Regions from separate parts of the Homo sapiens genome. Here region 1 is linked to region 2. The links are contacts of gene promoters, found by promoter capture Hi-C in blood cells and fetal thymus (Javierre and others, 2016). All regions are on one chromosome and are shown on one strand. Each heading gives the region's core, a stretch centred on a gene start or on the middle of the fragment in contact. The rest is flanking DNA. Distances are from core to core; before and after follow the strand shown. Region 1 overlaps ABCB10 (ATP binding cassette subfamily B member 10). Region 2 holds the start of RAB4A (RAB4A, member RAS oncogene family).

What was found. Contacts are between HindIII fragments. The CHiCAGO score rates a contact against its expected background, and 5 or more counts as called.
Region 1: a contact is called between a fragment that was not itself captured here and the fragment with the promoter of RAB4A in region 2, in 3 of 17 cell types (total CD8 T cells, non-activated CD4 T cells and naive B cells). The highest score is 6.4, in total CD8 T cells.

The regions. Positions count from the first base shown.
Region 1 is chr1:229,524,345-229,530,220 of GRCh38, reverse strand. It overlaps ABCB10 (ATP binding cassette subfamily B member 10), which reads left to right. Exons shown (of 13, transcript NM_012089.3): 8 at 1-22; 9 at 2,913-2,992; 10 at 4,105-4,285. Among named protein-coding and RNA genes, the nearest start is that of NUP133-DT, 19 kb to the right of the region's middle. The HindIII fragment of the contact is 278 bases long and covers 2,298-2,575 here.
Region 2 is chr1:229,268,573-229,274,154 of GRCh38, reverse strand. RAB4A (RAB4A, member RAS oncogene family) reads right to left here and starts at 3,044. Exons shown (of 8, transcript NM_004578.4): 1 at 2,785-3,044. The coding sequence starts at 2,815. RAB4A-AS1 (RAB4A antisense RNA 1) reads left to right here and starts at 3,001. Exons shown (of 2, transcript NR_149313.1): 1 at 3,001-3,179. RefSeq lists silencers at 2,503-2,662, 2,703-3,232. The HindIII fragment of the contact is 1,493 bases long and covers 2,065-3,557 here.

The DNA of each region.
Region 1 (5,876 bases), core at 1,187-3,686, 260 kb before region 2:
AGGTTGTACGACCCTGCTTCTGGTAAGCAGTTCACCACACTGTAGCACCGAGGGACTCTCCCGAGCTCTGCTCCCACTTTTGCGCCCTAGGAGATGCTCAAACCATGCAAATACCTTATTTTGTAGAGTACCTTCTTTTCTAAGTGCCAGTGGAAAGAAATCCCTCAAACAGAAGGTGTCATTTGCAGGGGCATGACAGCTCATACAGAGGCCTTTAGAGCTTTTTGTGTGTAATGTGTCCTACCTCTTCAAGCCCAGAGTGACTTCCCCAGATCTACCTCCTCATCTCCCATGCGGGTATCTCCTCTGGACATGCCCTCTACTGGGAGCAGGTGGACGAGGCTGTGCTCAGCAGCCAGGACAGAGTGCCTGGGGTGCTCCAGCAGCACCCTGGAGAACCACCGTGTGCCAGTGCGCGTGCTGGGCGCAGGAGTGATAGGGAGCTCCTGGAGAACCTCTGCCTCTGCCTGTGAGCCATTGAATGCTTATTGTGCACACAGTTAACTTGGCCATCAGTGATTCACTTCTTTTTTTTTTTTTTTTTTTTTTTTTTGAGACAGTCTTGCTCTGTCGCCCAGGCTGGAGTGCAGTGGCGCGATCTCAGCTCACTGCAAGCTCTGCCTCCTGGGTTCCCGCCATTCTCCTGCCTCAGCCTCCCGAGTAGCTGGGACTACAGGTGCCTGCCACCACGCCCAGCTAATTTTTTGTATTTTTAATAGAGTTGGGGTTTCACCGTGTTAGCCAGGATGGTCTCGATCTCCTGACCTCGTGATCCACCCGCCTTGGCCTCCCAAAGTGCTGGGATTACAGGTGTGAGCCACCGTGCCTGGCCAGTGATTAACTTCTATGTGACTGTTCCATTGAAACTATTTTGACCTAGTAGGGATTTTCTTTTTTTTTTTTTTTTTTTTTTTTTTTTTTTTTTGAGACGGAGTCTTGCTCTGTTGCCCAGGCTGGAGTGCAGTGGCACGATCTCAGCTCACTGCTGCAAGCTCCGCCTCCCGGGTTCACGCCATTCTCCTGCCTCAGCCTCCCGAGTAGCTGGGACCACAGGCGCCTGCCACCATGCCCGGCTAATTTTTTTTGTATTTTTAGTAGAGATGGGGTTTCACCGTGTTAGCCAGGATGGTCTCGATCTCCTGACCTCGTGATCCACCCTCCTCAGTCCCCCAGAGTGCTGGGATTACAGGCGTGAGCCACCGCGCCCAGCCGGGATTTTCTTAATGGATGATTTTTCTCATTCTAGTTTTTATTTTATTTTTAACTGGATTATAACATCTTTAAGAGCAAAGAGCACATGATTTTACTTCTATCTTCCCTGTAGTAGACAACAATGTCAGCAAGCAAACAACTCTTAGTAAAAATCAAATCATGAATTTAGAAAGAATATTTTGGCCAGATGTGGAGCCCCACACCTGTAATTGCAACACTTTGGGAGGCTGAGGTGGGAGGATCACTTGAGGCCACAAGTTGGAGACCAGCCCGGGTAACATAGTGAGACCCTGTCACTATTTATTAAAAAAAAAAAATTCTGTAATTTAAAAAATGAATGTTTTGTGTCTTTGTGCTTATGCTTTTTGGTTAAAACAATGTGAGAGCTGGTTACATGTCAGATAAATATGTGACTTGCAAATCCTGACCCATGGAATCACCACCTGTGTTAAAATGGGGCTTACTACATTGTTTGTCTCTGGAATCACTTTCTTGATTCACCATTCACTTGCTATAAAATTTGGAGTTTAAAAAAATCCTAGTTAGCTGGGCACAGTAGTTCACACCTGTAATCTCAGCTCTTAGGGAGGCAGAGGTGGGAGGATAGCTTGAGCCCGGGAGTTTGAGACCTGCTTGGGCAATATAGTGAGACCTTGTTCTCCATAAAAAGGAAAAAAAAAAAAGACCAAAAAAAATCCTATTTAGGTTGCTGTAATTCAAGTAAAAATACTGAGTCTCTAGTTTCTTCATCACAATGAATAAATCCAGGACAAAGCAAACTGCAGTTAAATGTCTGCCATGTGTAGTCTATAAAGAGCTTTGTGCTTTTTCGTCAAAGACCTCAAGTTTTTGCCAGTTTGTGAACATTTCCAGCTGGCTTCTATAATTCCACAACATTAACTGAGAAGAAATGGCATTTCTTATGCTGTCACTGTTGTCATCATCACCAAGTTTTGTTGAGCACCCTCAATGTGAAGAATTCTGTTAGCAAAAGTCATAAAGATAGCGTCTGATTATTTAAAAGCTCTGCCATGGTATCGACCAGATTCTTAGTTGCAGACAACAGATTCCTCACCAACTAAGCTTATTACAGAAAGGGATATTTTAAGGAGTAATAAAAGAGCTCAAAAATCACTGGCAGGAATGACAAAATAGATTCTAGATTGTACTTCCAGGACAGTTTGCAGAACTCCACCCCAGAACCAGGCCTTCAAGGTAGCTGCTGACACTGGCATGGTCAGGAAGCTACAAATTTAGGCAGTTGCTGTCATGAATGCCAGCTTCAGAGCTGTGCCACCTCTGCCAGTATTCGTGCCAGCAAGTGGATGCCTCATGGCTTGCCCCTCCCTTCTGAATTAAAGCTTTGCACAAGTGCATCTTATCGGTGGAATCCTAAGTCACTAGGGAGTTTTGGGAAAACTCCCTACAACCTCCGGAGTACAGGAAGGCAAGCTGGACAGATGGACTCGGTGAGATAGTCATCCAGCTACTATCGGGAGACAATAACTTGGACAATCCAGAAAGTCCCTTTTAGCTCTGAAATTTCATGAAATATGTTAGTTTTAGAGTCCATCTGGAGATTTTCAGTACATTTTGATCTTTAAAAAATGAGTCTGGAATTTTCCCACCGGATCCTTTCTGTGTTGGTCATCAGCCTCATCACACTCAGTGACTCTTTCCTTTCCTTTCCTCTCAACAAGGAACTATTAGTCTTGATGGCCATGACATCCGTCAGCTAAACCCAGTGTGGCTGAGATCCAAAATTGGGACAGTGAGTCAGGTAAGAAGAGAGGCTTCCATTTCTATTTCACTTTCTTTTAAAATTACTTTTGTCTTTTGCTTTTTTTTTTTTTTGTCTCGAACTTCTCAAGAGAGAAGGAATGGAAGTCTTTGGGATGTATTAAGCTCATCTCACATGGCAGGTTGTTTAGGTTTGCAAGTAGCGCTGTTTCCTGAAAACCCTAAATGTTTGAGCAAGGGTGAAGCATTGACTTTTTATTGAAAGCTGGAGACTACCATTACTAGATAGTCTAGAGGATGGGGAGGAAATGATAGAAGATTTTATTGACTCTTTTTTAGCTTTTACTGATTCTTCCCCACTTCCCATTTTCATCACCAGCCACAGTCTACTATTCTGCATAATGAGTTTCAGGGAAAAGTGAGCAAAGACTATGGCAAGAGCCAGAGTCCTCCTTGCAAAGAAGTTGCAGATTTCAAAGCAGAGTGTTAATGTAATGTGGTCACTTTGATAAGGCCATTTTCACAAGACCCTTTGGGGCAGGGAAATGTTGCTGCAGCTGTTTTAATTTTTATTACCAGGCTGTGCACACAGCATACAAACCTGAGCCTCCCCCCATTTCTGAACCTCTCTTTGTGATTAGCTCATCCTCTCCCCACTCCACTTGGGTGAGGGCAGGTGGATGGTGATGGGTGCTCAGGAGTGTAGGGACATCAGTGGTGTATATGATTAGGGATGGAGAAAAGAGCCTGGAAGTTTGCTTATTTTTTAGGACTACTCCATAGGGTTCTGTCAGAATTGTTTGTTCCCATGTGGTTTGTGTGTATTTCAAAAAGTAATGGATGGAGATGGATTCCCCGCTTTGTCCTGAGTGGAAGGCAGGCAGCTGGAAAATGCAGGTGGACTTGGGGTCTCCTGGTGCCTCCTGATTCCTAAGGCAGGGGACTGACATTTACAAAGTTCCTACCATGTGCCAGGTGCCTTGCGGGCACCTGCTGTGAGGTCTCATTGCTTGCAGCATGGTGAGAACTACAGATGATAAAATCCTGTTCATGGCAAAACATAAATTTTAAAAAAGACTGCTAGGTCTAAATTTATTAGACATGTTTTAAGTCTGTTTGAAATTCGTGATATGTTTTATTTCCAATTTGTAGGAACCCATTTTGTTTTCTTGCTCTATTGCTGAGAACATTGCTTATGGTGCTGATGACCCTTCCTCTGTGACCGCTGAGGAAATCCAGAGAGTGGCTGAAGTGGCCAATGCAGTGGCCTTCATCCGGAATTTCCCCCAAGGGTTCAACACTGTGGTTGGAGAAAAGGGTGTTCTCCTCTCAGGTGCATTTCTTTACTGCTTTGTAGCAAAGTCTCTATATCCAAAGAACTTTTCACATGTTTCTTGTTTTTTTTGTTTGTTTGTTTTGTTTTTGAGACGGAGTCTTGAGTCTTGCTCTGTCACCCAGGCTGGAGTGCAGTGGCAGTGGCGCAATCTCGGCTCTCTGCAAGCTCCTCCTCCTGGGTTCATGCCATTCTCCTGCCTCAGCCTCCCGAGTAGCTGGGACCACAGGTGCCTGCCACCACGTCCAGCTAATTTTTTAGTAGAGACAGGGTTTCACCGTGTTAGCCAGGATAGTCTTGATCTCCTGACCTCGTGATCCGCCCACCTTGGCCTCGCAAAGTGCTGGGATTACAGGCGTGAGCCACCGTGCCCAGCCCACATGTTTCTATATTGCAGTATTATTTTCTAATTAGGTTTTCATCTTTAGAGTTTTTGAAATTAGCCTTACCACTTGCTCTCTTATATGTGGAAAATTCCCCAGTGTTTTCTTTCACTTTCTACCCCATATGTGTTCCAAAAATTCTGAGTAGTACTCAGCCACAGCAAGCTTTTTTTCATCTGAAAAACAACAACAACAACAACAACAACAAATGTGCTTTGCAACCTGAGACCCTCAAAAATTAAAGAAAATAAGAAGTGGCAGGATGATTTGCCCAGGGAGTCAGGGAATGTGCATCAGGAACAAAGCTGAAATTGAAAGAATTATTTACTCCCTACATACTAGACCAGGGTTTGACAAACTTTTCTTTAAAGAGCCAGACAGTAAATATTGTGGGTTTTGGCCAGGCACGGTGGCTCACACCTGTAATCCCAGCACTTTGGGAGGCCGAGGCAGGTGGATCACTTGAGATCAGGAGTTCAAGACTAGCCTGGTGAACATGGTGAAACCCTGTCTCTACTAAAGATACAAAAAGTTAGCTGGGCGTGGTGGTGGGCACCTGTAATCCCAGCTACTCGGGAGGCTGAGGCATGAGAATTGCTTGAACTCAGGAGGCGGAGGTTGCAGTGAGCCAAGATTGTGCCATTGCACTCCAGCCTGGGAGACAGAATGAGACTCTGTCCCAAAAAAAAAAAAATTGTGGGTTTTATGGGTCACATATGATGGCTGTCACACATCCTTCTTTGTGTGTGTGTGCTTTTAAGCAACTTTAAAAATGTAAAACACATTCTTAGCTTGAGGGCCGTGCATAGACATGCCATGGTTCAGGTCTGGCCTGTGGGCCATAATTTGCTGAATAGACTCACGGCTGTGAGGCAAAGTGAGCGATTCCCTGTGGTGTCAGACCACACCTATCATTCTGGATCACATTATGGTTGCCATATTTTGAGGAGAGAGAAGACTCAGTTTGTATTTCTTTAAAGTGCAGAAATGAACCAATGAGTAGAACTTTAAGAGAAATAAATGTTCAGCTAAACACTTTTTTTTTTCAATACAAATATTGAAATGTTTCCTTGCAAGATAACAAGTTCCTGGCCGGGCATGGTGGCTCATGCCTGTAGTCCTAGCACTCTGGGAGGCCAAGACAGGCTGATTGCTTGAGCTCAGTAGTTCGAGACCAGCCTGGGCAACATGGTGAGACCCCCTCTCTA
Region 2 (5,582 bases), core at 1,795-4,294:
CTTGAGATGGGGAGATGGAGGTGGCAGTGAGCCGTGATTGTGTCACTGCACTCCAGCATGGGTGACAGAGCGAGGTCCTGTCTCAAAAAAAAAAAAAAAAAAAAAGGGAAACAAAAACCCAGTACATTTCATTCCTCATCTCTCTGTCAAGCTACACAGAGCCTCCTTTTACAGAAGAGCAAATAAGCACAGAGTACAAAGGAGTTTAAAGGTTAGGCAAACATTCCTTCACCAGCTCAGAGGCAAATGTCCAGAAGAGAGCCTGACTGTTTCACTTTTAAGGAACAATGCTGTATAAATATGGCCACTGATACGTCAAAGTGACAGCCTAGGACTTGGTTCTAGGTGACTTTTACTTCAGCTTGGCAAACTTCAACTGTCCTGCTTGCTCCTTCTAAAACTCATTTTCTTTTTTTGAGACAGAGTCTCACTCTGTTGCCCAGGATGGAGTGCAGTGGCACAATCTTGGCTCACTGTAAACTTCACCTCCTGGGTTCAAGCAATTCTCATGCCTCAGCCTCCCAAGTAGCCGGGACTACAAGCGTACCACCATGCCCAGGTAATTTTTTGTATTTTTAATAGGGCTGGGGTTTCGCCATGTTGGCCAGGCTGGTATTGAACTCCTGAGCTCAAGTGATCCGCCCAACTCGGCCTTCCAAAGTGCTGGGATTACAGGCGTGAGCCATCACCTCTGGCCTCATTTTCTATTTATTAGTTTCTACTAGTTTTCGATTAATTTCCTCTATTAGAAGAAAAGATTCAATTCAGAGTTGCAAAGTAAAAACATACTTGGAAGTTACCATGAAATAAGAATACTAATGGTCAAAGCCTTATGATCAGAATGTAATCAATCTGTGAAGCTCAAAAGTTCAGTTAACTGTGTCTGAAGTGGAGATGCCAAAGATAAGCTCTATTTTATCAGTTGTTATCATGCGTATACGAAAAATGAAACATAAAAGCTCTATCTCCTGAACTCTTCCAATCCTTTCTTACTGATTCATGACCCCCACTTGCTTTTCTTATTTGGACATTCCACCCTTCCCCTAGTGCTCCGTGCTCCTTACTCAGGTTAAAGAAACTAAGCCTGGGCTAAAGAGCACTTGAAAATAAAGAAGTGCAAAGATGTAACCAAAAATTGCTAAAGACCATGTTTTCCTTACAACATTTCTGACTGTGGTTCTCTACAGGAAGAACCAGACCACTGCCATTTGCAGAAACATTTGCAAACACTTGTCCTGATGAAGGCATCGACTTACTGGAGGATTTCCTACGCCTTCTAGGAACAGATGTCATGCCCCTTTGTCACCAAGAACAGGGCAGTACCAGTCACAGGAGTCACTCACTGAAGGTGGACCAAATGCACTGTGACCCCAGCATGGAAGCCCTTCCAAAAGTTCCCATTTTTTCTTACAAGACAAACTGACGCCTTCCTCAAGACCCTCTCCTCTCTGCCTCCTCATCCACCTCTCCAGCGTGGTACTCAAAACACACCCTTCTTGAGTTACCCTTCCCACAGGCCTGAGATGTTCTGCGTGCTGCCTGGTTAATGCCTCCCTGACACCCCTGTCTGGGTCATCTTTCTTTCTAACACACTTTCACGGACCACACTCCTTCAGAACTCTTGCCTGGTTTTTAATTATTCACTCATTAGTATCACAATTGGATTAATACTGCATTCCCTCAATAGACTACGCTCCATGAGACCAGAGCCGTGTCTGCTGTGTTTCTGCAGGATGTACAGCCCTCCCAGCACGGTGCTCGCTTCCCTAATGCCATTCCACAGTATTTGTTGCAGAGAAGGAAGCAGCATGCCAGGACAGATGGAGACAGGACTAATTTGGCTTGAGGTATGTAATTTTGAACTTGAGCCTCTCTCTGGGACTGTAAAACTCCAAATCAAAGTCTTAATCTGAGAATACATACATCTGAAAGAGTGATTAGGGACTGGTAAACATCTATTAATATTCAACTCTGATACAAAGTACAAGTTGTTTATTCTTACCACGCAAGGCCAAAAAAGGGGAGAAAAAAAAAAAAGCACACAGCATATGCACTGGGAAAGCTTTCGCTTATTCAAAACAGTATTTGTCAAGCACCTCCAGGTCTGGGTGCTGCAGGGGAAACAAAGATTAAACAGCCAGGGCTTTGCTTCCAAGGTGCTTACGGTCTTAAGAAGGAGACAAGACATGTTTATAAATAGCCAAAATGCAACCCAGAAAAGGCTAAAAAACACTGAGAGGGAGGGAGAAATAAACGAAGCAAGAGGTCTCCGGAGGAAGAGATGAATGAATTAGCCTATTAATAACTCCTCACTGTAATCCCAATGTAAAGCAAGGAATTCCAAACCAGGAAAGGTCAAACTGAAGTATTTGAGGAACACAGGCGTCGCCCTAAGCCCTTCACAGGCTCGCTGGGGATAATATCGCAGCTGAAACCGAACATCAAGCTGGCTTTTCAAACCTTCAGTTATTTACATTAGACTGAGAGGGGAAAAGCGCTAAGAGTGCAAGAGCAGAGAAAGAGCAAGAGGAAACTTGAAAAGGCGGATCACGCCAATGCGCTGTGCACAGCGCCCCCGCGCCCCGCGCACCCGCTACCCCACCCGAGCCCCCAGCGGCCCGCGTCCCCCATCCCGGTCCCAAGCCCAGACACCTCCGAGATCCGTCCCCCGGCTCCGGCCGGCGCCACCGCCACCCTCAAGACCCCCGCAGCCCAGGCCCGGCCCCGCGCCACCGACGCCCCCCGCGGCCCGACCCGCGCGCCCCGCCAGCCCGGGCCTCGTACCGTAGGTTTCGGACATGGCCGTCTGCGACATCTTGGGAGCGGCGCCGCCTCTCGCCGGGTCACCGGCTGCACTCGCCCGCGGTCCGCCGGCGCGTCTCGGTGGGGAAGGACCTGGGGCGGGGGACCGGAGGAGGGAGGGGCCCGACCGGTCCCCACGGCAACCGCCGGTCTCCCAGCGGCTGCGGCCCAGCCGGACTCCAGCTCCGCGCAGGCGCAGGGCCCTCCACCCTCCGTCCGGCCGCGACCGCGAGGAGGAAGAGGAGATGGGCTACGCGAGGCCCGGCCCACCCCGCGTTCGCGCGTGCGCACGGGGAGGCCGGGGCGGGGCGCGTGAGGACTTCGGCGCGCGCCGGAAGCACGTGCGCGGGCTGGGCGCTCTGGCGGTGTGCGCTGAGGTGGGCAGAGCGGCAGGTGGGGGCGTTGGGGGCTGAGTCCCGATTTCCCTGAGGGAGGGTCGGGTAGAGGCGGGCGGTGGGCAGGTTTGGGGGTGACAGAGGGCTGGGGACAGTGGGGTCCAGTTGCCGGACAGAGGAGGAAGGTGCCCGCACTGGGGAGGAAAGCAGTCCATTTGCCAAATTGGCCCGTCTCAGTTAAGACGTTGTCTTCGGTCATCATCTGCGGCTGTCAGCCAGGAAAAAACTTCCCTGACGCTGTTACGATGGAGGCCAGAACTTGGTTAATGTGTAACAAGGAGGCAGTAGGCCCCAGGTGTCCAGCCAGAGGCCGCCCTGTGAATGGGAGGCAGGTTCATTTACCCGTTGGGAAGCTAAGCTTTCACTCCAAACTGCCGGGCCCTCTTGGATGGAGCTGAGCGGGTGTGGGCGGAATGACAGAAGCGCAAGATGCCCAGGTGCTAAAAGGTCATCGCAAGACTACAGGCTGCAGCCTCTCCACATCCCATTTTAGAGGGTTCTGGATTACGGTTGAGAAGTATCTCCCGGCCCTCAGCTGGGGATGTGTTTCCAAATTTAGGAGTTTTTTTAATTTTTATTTTTTAACAGGGTCTGGCACTGTCAGCCCAGCCCAACCGATTCTCCTGCCTCAGCCTCCTGAGTAGCTGGGGCTAGGGGCTCACACGACCACACCGCGCCAATTTTTAAATTTTTTGTAGAGATGGGGTCTTGTTATGTTGCCCAGGCTGGTCTTGAACTCCTGAGTTCAAGCATCCTCCCTCCTTGGCCTCCCAAATTGCTGGGATTACAGGCATGAGTCATCTCACCTGGCCTTGGATAGTTTGGTTTCAGAAGCAAAACTGAGTTAGAATCCCCTTCTGTGGGAAATGTAGAGATAAACATTTATGGGAAAGAGAATTTTGGTTGAGGATTTGGCCCATCTGAGCTTGATCAGGGCCACATAGCGCCTCATAGTTCCCAACCTTGTTCACAATAGGTAGTCGAATGCTCAAAATATCCTTGGCTAAGCTCCCAAGTGACCTGGACTGTGTGGAAAATGCCAGTACATACTTTTGTGTGTGTGTGTGTGAGTCAGTTTGGCTCCATCCTCCACATAAATTGGCATCAGAGCTTCCCTCTTCCCCAGTGGCTATTTGGGTCGGTATTTTTCTCTTGTCTCCGATCCTAATAACAAATAAATGCAGTTTTTTCTAAATCACAGAGAAGGCCCCATGGTGAAAAGTTGTGACAGCTGTAATTCCTAAAACTGTTTTATATATATTTCTTGTTCAGTGGCTCAGATCATTTGTTGCTTTCTTGTTTGTCTCTCTGCATGTCGTGTTTGATTTAGGCTCCTGAGTATAACAGATTGGTTCTGATTAAAACCATTTCAGAGGAAAGACAGTGATCCCAGGAAGCGGGAAGAAAACAGCATCACCTGAAGTTATTCCTATTCGTTAGATTTGTTTTCTTCCTGCGAAAAACTGCTATGTACAAGAAAGAAGTCAGTGAGCTGCAGTGATAGTTAGCATTATTGACTGAAACTGGACCAGAGATCCCTGAAACCTGGACAAGGTGGTAGAAATACAAATTATGCTGCCATTTCAAAGCTGTGGGCAGTTTTCTACTTTGTGGAAAATGAAGACTTAGGTAGGCCTTTGGGAAAGACGATTTGTTTTGGAAAAACCACCCAAAGGGATCATTTGGTTTGCAAATGTAACTGCAGTATCACAACTGGAAGAAGAAATATACAAGGGCGAGGTTTGAAGGAGCCCTTCAGTATCCTTGGATGATACTGTGGAAGATTCTTTGCATCTCAGTAACTTTGGATCTTTGAAGATCCAAGAAAATAAATTTCTTCAAAATATTTTTAGAGACTGCTTTGATTCTGAGGCACTGCTGATTATATGGAAGAAAAAAATATTGGAAGATTAATTTGTGGTTTTCTCCAGTTATCGTCTCCCTTCTCTTTGGGGGAGGTTTGTGACGCAGTAAAAACAGATATACAAAAGCCTAGGCATGTTAGAGATTTGCCTAAGGGAAATGTAATTATGAAGAAGGATTTTTTCAAGCTGAAACTAGATCCCACTTTTTTCCAGGTCAGTGGGTCCTTCAAGTATCTGGTACTTTCCTTCCTGCTTCCTGACAATGTTAAAGAATGTGGCATGACCTTACATTTAATGCCCAACGTGAGGAGCCCTGGGGCTTGATGCATGAGATTCTTGGAGCTAGGCCTGGTGGAGGGCACTGGTCACAGCCTCGGTGGAATGGTGACTTTCTTTGGTAACTGGAATTGAAGAAAATGAGTGGACTTGTGTCTGAGCACTTGGGAACTCAGCAATCCCTGGGTGTTACCTTGAGAAGGAGCCAAATTCCAGACATACAAGTGGAGACTTGAAAATGGAA